Regions from separate parts of the Homo sapiens genome. Here region 1 is linked to region 2. The links are contacts of gene promoters, found by promoter capture Hi-C in human tissues and cell types (Jung and others, 2019). All regions are on one chromosome and are shown on one strand. Each heading gives the region's core, a stretch centred on a gene start or on the middle of the fragment in contact. The rest is flanking DNA. Distances are from core to core; before and after follow the strand shown. Region 1 overlaps CYP39A1 (cytochrome P450 family 39 subfamily A member 1). Region 2 holds the start of RCAN2 (regulator of calcineurin 2).

Region 1 (2,700 bases), core at 124-2,623, 97 kb before region 2:
TACACATCACGGCCCTCTGTGGCTGATTCCAGAGTCAGTAATGACCTCTCTAGCCTCAGTTCCAATGGAAGTAAAACAGACAGGATTGGGATCTCACAGGTCTCTCTATTTTAAAATGATAGAAGGTACCTGCAAAAGCTTCACTGTCTTCCCAGTCTTGGATTTGAGTCTCTCCAGCTCTCCCAGTTCTGAAATTGCCAAATCTCAAGCAATACTCAGCTGCCACTAGAGCCAACAGGGGTTCTCCTGGGTTAAAAAAATGATGACATCCCTACCCATACTCCACTCATAGCTACCAGTAAAAGACATATTTTTATTTTTCTTCGAGACAGAATGTCACTCTGTCTCCCAGGCTAGAGTACAGTGGCACAATCATAGCTCACTGTACCCTCAACCTCCTGGGCTCAAGCAATCCTCCTGTCTCAACCACCCAAGTAGCTGAGACTACAGGTGCACCATCATCCCCAGCTAATATTTTTCATTTTTTTGTAGAGACAAGGTCTTCCTATGTTGCCTAGGCTGGTCTCAAACTCCTGAGCTCAAAGGATCCTCCGACCAAGGCCTCCCAAAGTGCTAGGATTACAGGCATGAGCCACCACACCCAGCAGAAGACATGTTTTTAATTGTAAGGTGTTTATGCTTTGGATAAGTAAACCTAAAGTAAAAGTTTTTCAAATATCTTGAGGACATTTCAAAATTATACACGGTTAAATAGATGTGGCTTATGATGATGGGCAGTGGGAATTACCTAATAAAATATCTCTACCTTAGTAAAGTTGGTAGCTATCTAGCAATTATAAAACTTGGGAGATCTCTTTGTCCTGTGATTCCTGAACATGGTGATGATAGGGAGATTTTGTGAAATGGGTTTTAGTTCTTTGTATAGTTTATAGATCATGAAAATCTGTTGTCATATGAATCAGGAAGGATAATGTAGACTACCTGAGGAAACACATTGTTTATCCTCATTTCCACAAGCACTGTGACCCCAAACACAAACCCAACCAAACAAATACACAACACTTGCCTTTTCCTGTGTCTTCCTAACCAGTCGTTTTTCATTTGTTTCTTTCCTAATAACCGGTGCTGGACTGAGGAAAGAAAAGTCCACTGCCCCTGCTCTAACACTGTCATTAGTATCCACAAGAACAGGACATCCTCTGCCCCTCTTCTCAGTGCTACCATGGCCATTGTCCCTGTCTCAGAGTCCAATTTTTCTGTTTCATAACCTGAGCCTCCACTGTAGTTTCTGCCTTCAAGAACTCTGGCCACAAACCCTAATATCAAACATCAAAAGGTACATTAGAAGGGACTTATACTAGTTTCTAAAATTTTGACATTTAGCTAATATTTCCTTCCATATAACTGAATATATGTACATGTGAATCAGAATTATATAATTTCCTCTATGTAACCAAATATATGTATATGGAAATCAGAATTATATAGATACTATATTATTAGATTTTATATTATTTATAATTAGATATTATATAATTATATAGATATTAAAAATTAGATTTTCTCACATTCAATTATAAAAGGTATATCTTCACCACAATATAATTGTAGCATCATTTTTAGTGGCCCAAATTCTCTTTAAAGTATATTTCAAAAAAATGATTTGCAGCTGATTTTTCTGTTATAGAATTACATCATTCCTTCTGGTGACTTGTTGATGTTGTCTCCATTTTGGCTGCATAGAAATCCAAAGTATTTTCCTGAGCCTGAATTGTTCAAACCTGTAAGTTATCTCTTTCAGTATATATTATTCTTTCATTTTAATTTCTTTTTATTTCAGAAGGGTAAATTCAGAAATTAATTAGGACTATATAATTAAGCAGCCATATTTCTCTCGTAACTAAGAACAAAGTTGACTACAAAGTACAGAACAGATTTGCAATATAGATAGTGCAACATTTACAAATCAGTTAGAAAAGTTTTTGTAGTAAACTTCTCTAACTTTAAAATACATTTTACATGAAACCAGAAGGGCATGTTCAAGTGAATAAGCCTGTTTTTGATAGAAGACTTATTTCATGTTCTTCAGGCAATTGCTTCTGTCATTGGTTTCCAAGGAGTACAAAAAAATACAAATAAAGCAAATTAAAACCGTGATCTGCTGTTTCTTAGAACTGGAAAGTTACAGGGCCGAACAGAATGTTAAGAGGTCATTTAGTCTGTTCTCTGCCTTTAGGTAAAACTGTCAAAAATGGCATCCAGATGCATTCATTCTGCATCCCAAGCTTTTTCTAACAGGCAGGGATGTCAGTGTCTTACTACTAAATTTATTACCAAGAGCAATTTTATGACGGAGCCTGAGACCTTATTATAAATATTCTTCCTCTTCTTAGGTCAATTCTGTGGTTGATTTACCTTATCATTTACATTTACCACTTAACAGAATTTTTTAAAAACCTTTTTATTTATAAGTTCATGTTCCAGAAACACAATTGTGTCTAATATTAATAACAGGGTGGAAAAAATTACCAACAACCCTGCAACTTTATATGCAAGGATTAGCTGTACAAGGTCATTTTTAGCCTAGAGAAATAAAGTTAAGCTTATTTATATAAGGCTGATTTGGAAAAAAAAATGTTTTCTTCCCACAGGAACGTTGGAAAAAGGCAAATTTAGAGAAGCACTCTTTCTTGGACTGCTTCATGGCATTTGGAAGCGGGAAGTTCCAGTGTCCTGCAA
Region 2 (2,700 bases), core at 86-2,585:
AATGCCCTTTCAGACAATTCTAACCCAAATGGCAATTATCTAAATCAACGACTAATTACAGATTTATGCATCCAGGGGAAGGCTGAACGAGGGGAAGCCTAAGGTCATTTTCAATTCTGAAATTGTGTTTATGTTAATGCAGATTAATCAGAGAGAAGAGCCAACGTCTCGTCTACCTTTTTTTGTTGAAAACAAACAAAACGTGATTGTATGTCAACTTTGGAAAAAAACAACGTAGTGTGGGTAAGTGAAGAATGATTGTGAATGGACTGCTTCAGTGCAATCGTAATATTGTTATCAGAAAATCAAAAGGCATAAAAAGCAAAAAGAAAACGGCTTATTTATGCAGCAATTCGAAAGATGACAGAACACAAACCTGATTTAAATGTTATTCACTCCCTCCCTCAGATTGGTCTGCACACCTCCTTCCTTTAATTTCCCGCACTCTCCTATGATCTTTTGCATAATTCACATTCTCTTGCCATGAGACTCAGTCCTGTTCCTATCTGTGCCACCCGTAAGCCACAGGCTTCCTTACCCATTTGAGTTGCTTTATTCCGTAAAGCAGAGACTTCTACTGGGGTTAACTTTGTTGAGCAACAGATCTACCCTAGATTGCGATTCACCTTCAGTCCCGTTTGCTGTAGGATACCAACCTCCCACTCACTGTGTCATGGCTCTCACACAATAGGATTCCTTGCAGCCCGAACCCTTCTGTCCTCAGGTCTGATGGCTGCAAATCCTGGCAAAGCTGTGAAGCCCGCGCAGGGCACCCTCAGCGGCCTGGGCTGGGCCGGGCGCAGGGCTCCAGCCAGAGGGCGCCAGCGCCCACCAAGCGCAGAAGCCCGGGAGGACCATCCAGGGGCTCCCCGACATTTCCTCAGTTAGCCAGAGTCGGGGGGCTCAGACATCTGGTAAGAAGAGTCTTTCTCCCAGTACTCCCCCACCACAGTTTGCTTCTCTGACCATTTCTTCTGGGCTGTCGCTGCCCCCTCACCCTCAGCTTAGTATGGGACCCCGAGGAGCCTCTTCCCGCTGAGGCCGGGACTCCTGCAGCCAGGCTCCCACGCCAGGTGCCCGGAGGCTCCTGCGCCCTCCCGGGCACCTGAAGTGGAAAGGAGGGGGTGCGGGGCTGAGGGCAGGGTGAGAGCCCCGGAGGTGCGGTGGGTAGGGGACTGGGGAGGGCGCCGGGTCAGGAGGGAGGAGATGAGAAGAGGCCAGACAGGGGCTTTCGGTTTCCCTGGGTCTGATTGGAGGTTGGCCCGATGAGTCGGAGCTGGGGACGCGCCCATCTCCGCCGGCTCCTGCGAGAGCCGCCGGCTCAGCCCCTCCCTGGAGCCGCTTTGTCCCGGGTGACGGCGGCGGAGGTTGCGGGGAGGAGCGGGCAGCAGGCAGAATCCCACTGACCCACGGCGGCAGAGAGAGGGAGGCGGGGCGCGCCGCGCCGCGTACGGCCCCACGCAAAGGCCCGCGGGCACCGCGCCGCCCCCACGCGCTCGCACCGGCGGGCAGGTGAGCAGGCAGCGCCGCGCGCTAGCAGCTGGCCCCCGTAGACGCCCCAGCCGCCGCCTCCGCCTCCGCCTCCGCCGGCGCATCGCGGACGCCCAGCAGGTCGGTTATGTAACCGCGCCGGCCAGGCTCGCCCAGGCACCCCGTCCCGCCGGGGCTGACAGCAGCCCCGGGGTCGTGCCGGGGGTCCGCGGCGGGGATCTGGTCTCCGGGCCGGGTCTGGGTGCAGGGCGGGGGCGGGGGCGGGGGCGGGGGCGGTGGCGGGGGTGGGGGCAGTGGCGGGGGTGGGGTTTGTCTCCAGATCTGTGGTCAGTCCCGGCTGCGGCCGTGGGGACGGAGATCTCCCGCGACCCCCCTCTAGGGGGCGCGGGTCCAAAGGAGCCCCTTCCCCACTGCCCGTGGCCCGGGGGTTTGCCTTCCTGGAAGCAGCAGCAGGTGCATAAGTGAAGGAGCGAGGATGACGCCTGTGATCCCCGGGACTGAGGCTTAGAGAGGGTCTAGAAGAGACTAACTGGATGCAGAGAGCAAAGAAGATCGAGAGATCCCTTCTTCCCAATGCAGAGGCTGGGGAGGGGGTAGGTGCACTGAGGTGCAGCGGGCTGAGAATTGTCCTGCTTGGGATTAGCGGCCTTGGGTCATCTAAAAATAACTTCAAGTTTGAAAAGTGAAATGGAGCGGAGCGCAGTGTGCCGGGTTCGTCCTGCCTGTGGGATGCTTCGCTCCAGAAGTCACCAGAGGGAACAGGCAAATCCCAGCCGCCTGATCCCTCGGCCGCCTCCAGGTCTCGCTGGTTTCCAGGGTGCCTCGGTTTGCCTTTTAGTTAATGATTTATTCTTCGAGGTACTTCTGCCTATTTCTTATCCCAAAATGAATTATAGCAGAATGCATGCTTTGAATCTTTCCTGTTTCTTACAATGGGATAGAGGTGTTCAACTGCCAAATGAAGTTTTTTTAAGTCTCAGTTTAGTAAAAACAAAAGTTTCTGGGGTTCCTTTAATATGCATTCCCACAGTTTTCCACAATTGGAGATGAAGGGATGTCACAGCATTCCAGCTCACACTTCTCTCTCCCTTCAGCCAGAATTTCACTCAACTTATCATGCAGAGGGGAGGCTTTAGGAAATGTAGGACAACTTTAACAGTGCAACTCAAGTTTCACACCTTTGTTATCCTTTATTACATCACTTCAAAA

The links. Contacts are between HindIII fragments. The study calls those that stand out against the background at their distance.
Region 1: a fragment that was not itself captured here is called in contact with the fragment with the promoter of RCAN2 in region 2 in 2 of the 25 tissues and cell types used here (aorta and hippocampus).

What each region holds. Positions count from the first base shown.
Region 1 is chr6:46,587,078-46,589,777 of GRCh38, reverse strand. It overlaps CYP39A1 (cytochrome P450 family 39 subfamily A member 1), which reads left to right. Exons shown (of 12, transcript NM_016593.5): 9 at 1,649-1,744; 10 at 2,613-2,700. Among named protein-coding and RNA genes, the nearest start is that of CYP39A1, 64 kb to the left of the region's middle. The HindIII fragment of the contact is 3,147 bases long and covers 1-2,700 here.
Region 2 is chr6:46,490,084-46,492,783 of GRCh38, reverse strand. It overlaps RCAN2 (regulator of calcineurin 2), which reads left to right and starts at 1,335. Exons shown (of 5, transcript NM_001251974.2): 1 at 1,335-1,611. It overlaps RCAN2-DT (RCAN2 divergent transcript), which reads right to left and starts at 732. Exons shown (of 3, transcript NR_125837.1): 1 at 657-732. RefSeq lists silencers at 713-772, 1,283-1,372. The HindIII fragment of the contact is 8,830 bases long and covers 1-2,700 here.